2 separate regions of the Homo sapiens genome follow, and region 2 is linked to region 1. Evidence: promoter capture Hi-C in 16 types of primary human blood cells and fetal thymus (Javierre and others, 2016). All regions are on one chromosome and are shown on one strand. The core of a region is centred on a gene start or on the middle of the fragment in contact, and the rest is flanking DNA. Distances in the headings are between cores, read along the strand shown.

Evidence for each region. The method cuts DNA at HindIII sites, captures the fragments that hold promoters and counts their contacts. A CHiCAGO score of 5 or more calls a contact.
Region 2: a contact is called between a fragment that was not itself captured here and the fragment with the promoter of HTR2A in region 1, in 1 of 17 cell types (M0 macrophages). The highest score is 5.8, in M0 macrophages.

What each region holds. Positions count from the first base shown.
Region 1 is chr13:46,893,483-46,898,911 of GRCh38, forward strand. It overlaps HTR2A (5-hydroxytryptamine receptor 2A), which reads right to left and starts at 3,571. Exons shown (of 4, transcript NM_000621.5): 1 at 3,192-3,571; 2 at 2,013-2,752. The coding sequence starts at 2,424. RefSeq lists a silencer at 672-881. The HindIII fragment of the contact is 5,377 bases long and covers 116-5,429 here.
Region 2 is chr13:47,400,712-47,406,012 of GRCh38, forward strand. No RefSeq gene overlaps it. Among named protein-coding and RNA genes, the nearest start is that of HTR2A, 510 kb to the left of the region's middle. The HindIII fragment of the contact is 1,125 bases long and covers 3,215-4,339 here.

The DNA.
Region 1 (5,429 bases), core at 2,321-4,820:
CAGTATCAGCTGGAGAGCTTTAGAGAAGGTCCTGATGCCCATGCCAAACCCAGCCCAATTAAATCATGTTTGGAGGGTGGGCTGAGGTGGACATCAAATGTCAAAGCGTTTGCAAAGCTTTTTCCAAGCTCCCCAGACAATTCCAATGTAAGAGATACTGCAGGTCACCTGCTATATGAGGAAGGTTAGAGTGTGCTTTATGGACATAAACAAAGTGTCCTGGTTTTGTGTTTTGGAGGGGGATTAAGCAGTTATGTAAACCTTAATTAGTTTTGATCACAGTATAAGCAGCGGAGTTAGATCTGCCTGCATGTAAGAAGGAAAATTTTAAAGTCCACTTTTCTTATTACAGACCCACAAAGCCGAACAAACTCCAACGCAAACGTACACTCTCTACCAAAATGCCACAAGGGATATTTAGACAAGTAAAGGGCGTAGGTACAAGCCTAATTTACAGCCATTCACATGTATTATTTGCAAAGAGCTTGAGCCGAAAGGAAAGCCTTTTCCTTTGCAGCGCCTTATGGGGGAAGCCACGCTCTGTCTGTTCGGAACAGATGTCGGCCCTCGGAGGGGTTTCTCTGCCAGGAGGCGGCCCAGGCCTCAGTCCGTGTTTCTGATGCGGGATAAGGAGGGGGCATTTCCTTGTGGGAGAAGCCCCATGCCCCACGCCCCGTGGGCTGGGGGAGGCTGGAGGAGCAGCCTAGGGAGGGGCGGGGCTCCGGAGGGAACGGGCTGCTCTCAGAGCGGCGGCCGCCAGGGGGCGCCCTTGCTCCCCAAGCGGGTGACGCCGGGGGTCACCCCACCCTCCAGCCTCTGTTTTGGGTCCCGCTCTGTCACTCCTCCTACCCCCACTGGAGTTTGCCCCCTAGGGGAGGGGGTTTGGGAAGCGAGAATCTTCCCCGGGATGCCGGGGAAAGGGCAGGCAAATTAAATGAAATCATTCCGGTGTGGCATTTAAATGGTCAAGTGAAGGCTGGACTTGGAATGAGTGTTACTAGCTTTGTGCAAACTGGCGCCTGCTCGCCCTTGCGTACCGCCTTCCTCCTTCACATTCTCTAGGGCTGGGTTGATGTTTTTTAATCTTAGCCCCTAAGACTTGACCAGAAAATTTCCCTTTAAAGATAGCTATCATAACCTGTCTCTAAGCTCTGAGTGACTGCTGCTTGTGCCTGTGTCAGCAGTCACAATAGTCTCTCCTTTAAGGAGGTATCTGGCTGTATTACTCATAATTTGGAAAGAATATCACATTCTGGTCCCTTGCTGAGAGGTCTGACTGTTTCAAACTCTGTTGAGAAGAAAGCAAGATTAATCCCTTCCCATTTGTTTCCCACCCTCCTCCAAACCAGACTGGAGGAGTTTATGCATATGCATTTTCAAAGAGTTGAGGATATAATTCAAAGGCACATTTCCAAATTAGCTTCTCTGGGCAGGGAACAATTAAAACTGGAGTAATTCATTTATTCTAATTGAGGTTCTGCATATTTTAACATAAAACCTATTGCACCACTAATGTTCTCTCTGCAAATGTTCCAAAGTAATTGGGAAGGCTTTATCACTCCATTAAAAGTGCTGAAAACTGTGTGACAAAGATTAAAACTGTTCTGTCCTGAAGGCTGGAATATTGGTTGGGAATATAAAGAAGCAAAAATCAAGTAGATTCAGAATGATGGGTAAGTTATTGGTTTATGACTGTATGGGGTAATTTATAAAAATTTCTACATTAAATGTACATGTTTTGAAGCACAAAACTCTCCAATGATCATTTTTACACAGGATGTACGCGTTTTGAAGCACAAAACTCTCCAGTGATCACAGGTCATAGACTGTCTGATTTTTATGTGAAATCCCATTTTAAGAGTAAAATATAAGTAACATAGTAGGCTCTAGTCTATAAACAAAGACTTCTATTTATAGTTTGTTTGCCCCCTGAGCCCCATCTCATCTGCTGGTGGCATGCACATGCTCTTTATTACCAGTGCGAATATAGCTGGGAAACTAATGCCACTCACCATACAGGATGGTTAACATGGACACGGGCATGACAAGGAAACCCAGCAGCATATCAGCTATGGCAAGTGACATCAGGAAATAGTTGGTGGCATTCTGCAGCTTTTTCTCTAGGGACACTGCCATGATGACGAGTATGTTTCCAGCAATAGTTAGAATAATCACTACGGCTGTCAGTAAAGCAGACCAGTTTTTTTCCTGGAGATGAAGTAAGGAGAGACACGACGGTGAGAGGCACCCTTCACAGGAAAGGTTGGTTCGATTTTCAGAGTCGACTGTCCAGTTAAATGCATCAGAAGTGTTAGCTTCTCCGGAGTTAAAGTCATTACTGTAGAGCCTGGTGTCATCATTTAATTGCATTAGGGAGTTCGTAGTTGAGCTCAAAGAAGTATTTTCTTCACAAAGAATATCCATGTCTAAGCCAGAACTTGTAGCAGATGAGGTGTAGAAGGACTAACAGGTTATAGTTTCTGCTCACCATTCACCTTGATGTACCCACACTCTGTAACACTGAGGCTGGTGTACATGCTGTTCTCCCGGGGCTGGATTTTTGTCTTCCATTATTACAATGATAGTTAAAGAACTGAACTGTGGTGGCTGTAAGTTTTCTTCATTCACAATTTTAGGAGAGTCCACTGTTTGGTTTTATTATTTTCTCACCAAACCGAGGACAAAAAAGCAGAATGAACTTTTAGCATAGAGGTTGCAGGGTTTTTTTTGAGCGCTCGGGAAGATAAATGTCCTGGACAAAGAAGAAAAGTTTTATAACTACTGGGACTCTTGTTTAACTATATCTCATTTTGTTGGTTATGCCGATGGTACTAGTTTAGCAACAGTATTATTAAAATAGCATGCAATCAGAAACAGTGGGGATGTACACATTCTACATTAAGAAAGTCAATTAAAAATACATCCAGTGTTAATCCCATAGTAATTGGATGTACTTTGGGTTACAGTTCTCAGCCATTCTTAAGCTGAATTGCCACAGCTGCTGTCAGGAATTTCAGCTCCTATAATGTTGCTTAGCTAATAAAAGGAAAACAAAAAAGTCTTAAGTAAAGATTAGCAGACAACTTTCCTCCCTGGAAATTCTCATTGAAATGATTACATGTTGGCCAAGCATGATTTCAAACCGGAAAGAAAATTACACAGCAATAAAATATAGCGGCATGAGAACTTACATTTGTCTTCAGGGTCCACACATGAGATACATTTGTTATTCTGTGACTCGCTGCATCTCTCACAGTAATTAAACTGGTGTAGAGTCCCCTCTTCTTGATCTTCCACCAGCATAATATGATAGTAATTTGGTTTCTGTTTTGCTGACTTCAAAAACTGCATGCAAGAGCTGAGCCAGCTCCCGCACTGCTAGGATCCTGTTGGCTTCCTCTGGCACGGCTCGGCTGGGTTCCTCCCTCCCTGTGCGGCTCGCCTCAGCAGGCACACATTTAGAAATCATTCACGAGCCCCTCAAAGTCGCACAAAAGAACTGCATGGGAAAGTAGGAAGAGCTGTCTGCACCAAGGGACTCCTGGTTTCCACGGGAATGGAGTAGCTCTCTGACTGTCTCGTTCATTTCATCAGACCTCCCTCTATGTGTATGTCATAAGCTGCAAGGTAGCAACAGCCAGGAGGGCGGACCAAACAGGCTTTTTCTTCTCCCTCTTTTTGCTACATATTAATATTGGGAAGTTTTCCTTTGCTTTTGAGAGAAACTGGAGAAATGGCCTTTTGTGCAGATTCCCATTAAGGTAGGTAAGTGGCACTGTGGTAATTTTTTAGGCTGAAGGGTGAAGAGAGAACATAAATAAGGCTAGAAAACAGTATGTCCTCGGAGTGCTGTGAGTGTCCGGCACTTCCATCCAAAGCCAACAGTGTTTGTGTCCAGAGTGGAATTACTGACATTGGCCACATAGGCTCAGGGTGGCTAGGCACGTCTGTGGTGATAACTCTGATAAACTATTAGCACTATTTTTATTTAATAGATACACCATTGAACTGGCTTATTTTCTTCAGCAGAAATATGCCACCCAGATATTATTCAAAACCTCACATGTGGTAGGAAATAAGTTGGTTTCGCAGTACCAATTTTTTTCCCCCACCAGTAATGACAACTTGCCTTACTTGTAAAGAAAGCCCTTTCCCAAGTAGGTTTCTAAAGGAGGCAGTTCGATCTCTCTCTTTTTGCAGGCATGAAAATATTTTCCTCAATAGTTGGGTTTTGCTACAGTTCTATCACCTTCTGTTCTTCACATTCTCCCTGGACAAATTCAACCACTCTCATGCCTTCAATATGTTTGTGGCCAAGTCTGTACCTTCATAGCTGATTATTTCTCTCAGTTCCAGACCTAAATCTCTAGCTGCCCATTGGCTCCTTCCATGGTAGCCTGGGAGACCTTGACCTCAGCATCTTCCCTCACTCCGCATCCCCCTGCCCGGCTCTCAGTGCTTGTTCCTACCCATTGGCTTGCATGATGGAATCACCACCTCTTCAGACAGCTGCTGTTATCCGCGACTCTTCCTTCATTCTCGCTGCCAGATCCCACTTCGTCTCCGGTGCTACCTCTGTATGCGTGTTTCTCACATGTCCTCTCCTGCAGCCTGCAGCTGGCACCCTGTGGTCGAGATCTAGCCACCTATTTCCTGGGTGGGTGCCTTAGTGCCCCCCTCACTGCCATGCCTGCCACCCTCCTACCCCTCCACGTTAAATATGCACGCTGGCGAGCAGGCAGCGGAGAACACAGACCTTAGAGTTCCTTGGTTTTGGATCCTAGCTCTATCACTCATAAACAGTAGAACCTCGCCTCATCTAGTTGCTCCCTTTAAAGCTCAGTCTTCTCACTTGTAAAATGGGATAATACCTTCCTCATAAGATTGTAGTGAAGCTAAACTGAGATAATGTGTGTAAGTATTTGGCCCATGTCTGGCTTATAGGAGGTTCTCAAGTAATGTCAGCCACTTTCATTCCTATTGATATTCTTACTGATATTAATGACACAATTGGCATCACTCCCATGCCTACACTCCTGCAGTCCCTTCCTTGTGGGGCACATAACACTTTTCTTCATCTACCTGTACCCTGCTTGCCCCACTTTGCAGGCCTGGACTCTGGTTACTCTCCCAGTCAGCCTGTATGCAGACTGAACTTACATGTTTCTGACCATTTTTATGTCTCTGTACTTGTACTTCCCTGTGCCCGGAGTGCTCTTACCATTCCTTTTTTGTGTGTGTCCATCTGGCAAATTCGTGCTTAGTTCCAGAGCAGCTCTGGATCCCAGGCCTACCACTCACCACATCTGTAAGCGTGATTAAGCTACCTAATCTCTGTGTTTTAGTCTCCTCATCCGCAAGTAGGGAACATTAATAATAAAAAGACCTCAGGATTGACGTGAAAGCCAAATAAATTTACATATTTGCCT
Region 2 (5,301 bases), core at 2,527-5,026, 510 kb after region 1:
TCATGCTGCTATAAAGACACATGTACACGTATGTTTATTGCGGCACTATTCACAATGGCAAAGACTTGGAACCAACCCAAATATCCAACAATGATAGACTGGATTAAGAAAACGTGGCACATATACACCATGGAATACTATGCAGCCATAAAAAAGGGTGAGTTCATGTTCTTTGTAGGGACATGGATGAAGCTGGAAACCATCATTCTCAGCAAACTATCACAAGGACAAAAAAGCAAACACCTCATGTTCTCACTCATAGGTGGGAATTGAACAATGAGAACACATGGACACGGGAAGGGGAACATCACACTCTGGGGACTGTTGTGGGGTGGGGGAAGGGGGGAAGGATAGCTTTAGGAGATATACCTAATGCTAAATGACGAGTTAATGGGTGCAGCACACCAACATGGCACATTATACATATGAACTAACCTGCACATTGTGCACATGTACCCTAAAACTTAAAGTATAATAATAATTTAAAAAACAAAATAAAATAAAATGTAAAATCAACTGTAATTCAACTGCTTTGCATGCAGTTCCTCAGGACTCCTTAAACCTGTGATTCACTGGGCCACAGTCATTCATATAAGCTCAAAATAAACCTCTTTAAAATACCTTAAAAAAATAAAAAATAAAACAGATAAAAATCTAATTTAAATCTTCCCTATCTCTACCTATGTAAACACTAGCAAATTAGGGCACCTATGTCAGACAAAAGTTTCAAAGCAATAGTCTACCATTGTCCCTAATTCCTAAAGACCCATTATTCTCACAAGCCACTCCAATAAACTGCTGTATAGCTTGATGAACATTTATTTAGTCCTATTCTTATTGGACCTCTGTGATGCTTTTGGCACTGTTTAGCTCTCTCACCTTTTTAAAATCCTTTCTTCATTGGATACCTCTGGCTCATCTTGAATCTCTCGTATTCCTTTCCTGTCTTATTTGTGGGTTTCTCTTGTTTTTCTCATCCTTAATTTTTGGTGTTCACCAAAGTTAGTTGTTGGTTCACAGCTTTTTGATGCTAATTACTCTTCCTGCATCTTAGGTGATCTCATGTAAATTTTTATCATTTGTATTACTAGCTATATGCAAATGACTCCCAAAGCTACATTTCAATTCAAAGAATCCAATGTAAGAATATGTCCAAATGCATCTTATCTGTCCCATAAAAATATCAAACTCAATGTATACAAAACTAAATTTGTCATACTTCCATCTAAAACTGCTCTCCCCTCATTTTCTCCATTTCAACTGGCATATTTCCACTGTCATATGCCCAGTCCCTCAAGCTAGAAACCAGAAAAGTCAGACAATTCCTTTGTCTTTTTCACACTCCGGATTAAATAAATATTTGGCCAATATTCCCTTACATGTAGGTCTCCAATCCATCCCCTCACCTTTGACATGGTCCCATCACTATACCATGTTTCAGATCCTTGTCTCTTGTCTGCACTGTGACAACCACCTCCCAAATTATTTCTCTCCTTCTGGTCTTATCACTTCTCCCAAGCTTTCAGAGAGACCTACCTAAAACACAAAGATGTCTCGTCCATGGCTCCCCATTCCTTCTAAGATAAGCACAAAGTTCCATTGTTAAACCTATACTTTCTGGCCTCTTCATACCACTTGAGCTTCACTTTTGAGCATCTTTCCACCTTCTTCTTTAAGTCAACTCCACGTTCATCCTTGAGCCCTCTGTGCTGATCCTTTCCCTGAGTCCAGCTCAGGCACACCTCCTTCATTCCAATGAGTTAAACCTTTGCTATCCTTTTAAATATTATTCCATTGCCTCCTCTTCTAAAAAGTCTTCCCTGCCCTGTCAGCTGGCTATGTTAAACGTCCATTCTCTATGTTCCTAGGAATGTCCGGGCATATCTCTATTACTGCATCTGTCACATTATATTACATTTTGATATATTATAATGCATATATATCCATACATATTTATCTCTCTTTCTCCCTTTAGTCTTGAGGGCAGTCTCTGTGTAATATTCATCTTTGTATGCCCGATACCAAGCACAGTGACCAACATAGAGTAAGTTGTCAATAAAATGTTTGTTAAATGAATGAATTAATGAAAAATAGTTCTAAATTGCTATAGTTTTAATCATATACACTTGCATAAGATACTGTCACTTCTTCTACCCTATCTAGATACATTTTTCTCTGTTAAATCTTACAAGAAGAGATTTTCTTTCCAACCATCATCAAAATAAACTAATAAAAATATTGGCTAGAACATATTTATTAGGTGTCAGGCACTATGCTAAGTGCTTTATATTTATGTTCTTATTAATCTTTAAAAAACTCTAAGATAGGTCCTATTATTATCCTCACTTTACTTATAAGAGGTCAGAGGCTTAGAGAGATTAAGTTTCCCAAAGCCACACAATTAGGAGGATCGTGAGGCTGGCATTCAACCCACATCATCATCTACTGTCTCTCATGGCATCATTTAACAACAACAACAACACAGAGTGGCTACACAGGCATTCATGGGAAGTAAGAAAAGTATTCAAAGATTATCTCTATATTGAGCCTTGAATATTGAGCAGAGGCTCCACTTGGAAACATAAACACACACACACACACACACACACACACACACACACACACACACACGCACACAGAAAAGAGCATCCCGGGCTGGCTGAAAAAATCTGTCCAGGCTAAAATTCAAGGAGGGAAGAATGTAAGAATGTGGAATGATCAGAGAAGTTGAAGAACCTCTAACCATGGGATGTGGAAGGCTATTGACAGGGTAACAGGCTGAAGAGGTGAGTTGGTACAAGTCAGAGTGCTATGGATACTGTGCAGAGAAGTTTAGAATATTTTTTAATAGAGAACCAGTTTAGTATTTAATGCCATCAGAAACATAACTTGTTCAGGAAAGTGAAGGATTTATTGAAATGAGAAGAGGTTATACAGACCAACACTTGTATTTTTTTGTATTTCTTTTCTTATCTTTCTATAGTTTAATATATCCATTGATAAGTACTTCAGATTGTATACATAAAATATTAAATCTATAACTATATAATATCATATATATGTGTCTCCAGCTGTATTTGAAATATCCAAGGCTATGAAAAACTTGTTTTCTATCTCTTTTGTTTATATCATAATGCCTCCCATGCTGCTCTGAACAAAGTAAGTGCTAAATAAATGCTCATTTAATAACTTAGGAGGGTATCCTTGAAAATTAAGCTTTCTGGAAGGCATAGATTTACTGTTCTTAATCTTTCTTTGGAAGAGAACTGTTGAGATAAAAACACTTCTATGTTAAACATATAAAATTCAAATTTTGAATCAAGTATTGGTTTTCCAGGGGAAAAAATTACCATAACTTGAGATTATTGTAACTAAATATATAGTATATGTAAAAGTTAGACAAGGTGGTCACTACTCAGAAAGATGTGCTTTATTTTGTTTTCCAACTTCGACGTGGTATGGTTTTTAAAATGTATCTTCTGTGCTGGTTGCCTTTAAATAAGAAATTGTGTGTATGTGTGTGTGTGTGTTTGTGTGTGGTGTGTATGTGCACATGTGTCATGACACATGAGTAACAATGAGCTTGAAGGCTTTTGTACAGGGTGATGATGAATATTGATTGAATTCATGAACTGTTATCTATGAGCTGCTTCTCTGTTTTTTTAAAGGAATTGGTTATTAAGCAATGAGAGCTTTTAATGCTGAGTCCTATAATTATTGTGATGTCCTTTCTAACAGCTGTGTTCTCTATATGTGTATTTTTAGCGAAGTGATTATAAAAGCAGAACTACATGTTCTTCTGCCCAGAGTCCTCTCTACCTGCATCCATCAATTTTCCTGTCTTTTTCATCCAATAAACAGCTACCCCACTTACTTTGCAGTGAACTGTTGATTTTAAGGGATCTTATTTTAAATTGCTGGATATATTCACTCTCTTTTCTTAATAAGCATATGTCCTGGACAAGTGTTATATGGATATTTGAATTTTAATGGATATTCAATGTTTACATATGTCTTTCTCGATCTGGGATTGTGATGCCAGAGGATGTCAAGGTGTCATCAAATATTCTTAAAGGCCTTTGCCTCATCCCTCCCAATCTAATCATACTTATTCATTTGTCAAGCATTTATAGGACATCTATTATGCATAAGAAAAAGATTACAGTCATGAGCCATTTCCTCTCTGTGTTTACACTGTAGCAAGCAAACTGAAATTATAATATATGGCAAATGCCACAACTAGATATCCACAAAGTATTAAGAAAGCCAAAAGGAGGGAACTTAGCACCAGTGGGAGGGTCAGAGAAACCTACCTAGAGGAGAGGCCAAATGAGGAGAAAGCTTAGAAAATCTCACTGTTCTTAGTGCCCAAGGCCTTTAACCAACCCAACCTTCCCAAAGCTATTTCCAGGTCTTCCCATAAGCCAAATCAAGCAATTGCTTAATGTGAACATGAGAATCTGTCATCTTCAGTTCTTAATTAACTATATTATATTTTATTTTAAAAGAAAAGTTAACAATAGTCATGCAACAAGCATTCACTGAGCACCTATTGAGTGCCAGGTATTATGCTAAGTGTCTGGTAAATATAAATAAAGCATTGTTCCTATATTAAAGAAACTTAAAAAAACCCTCAATTAGTAATTAACATATAAGTACAGTATTTAGAATTACATATATTGTGATTTGTAGGGTCACAGAGAAAGTGGTTGCAACCCAGTAGCATTCAAAGTGGGGAATATGAGAAGTGAGAAGGCCAGCAAACACTCCATCCATGACACAACAGTTTAGTTGAATAGGTTGAGTAGGTTGAGTAAGTCACCCAATTAGAAGATGGTGGGGCTGGAATTTGAACTCACATCACCTGACTCAACTGTCTCTCTTGGTATCATTAAAAAATTATTGAGTGGTTACCTAGACGTTCATGGGAAGTCAGAAAGTCTTCACAGAAAAGGGTGTATACTGAGTAAATTAATAATCTCAGAAGTACAATAAGCTATAGAGATCCATAGCACATAAACTGTGATCAAAAAAGATTTTCCAAAAAAGCATAGCATGAATGAATCTTGAAGTCTGAGAAAATAATACCAGTTAGGTGTAAAAGGGAGAGAGGGCATGTCAAAGAATAGTATTAACACTTGAGAGAACATGGAGGTATGACACACCTTTTTTTTTTTTTCAAGTTAAGAAAGTTATCTTCTATCCCTAGTATTTCTGATGATTTTTAAGTTATAAATAATCATTGAAATTTATCAAATGACTATAACTCTTGAGGCAGTTGATACTATTATTCACTTTTAG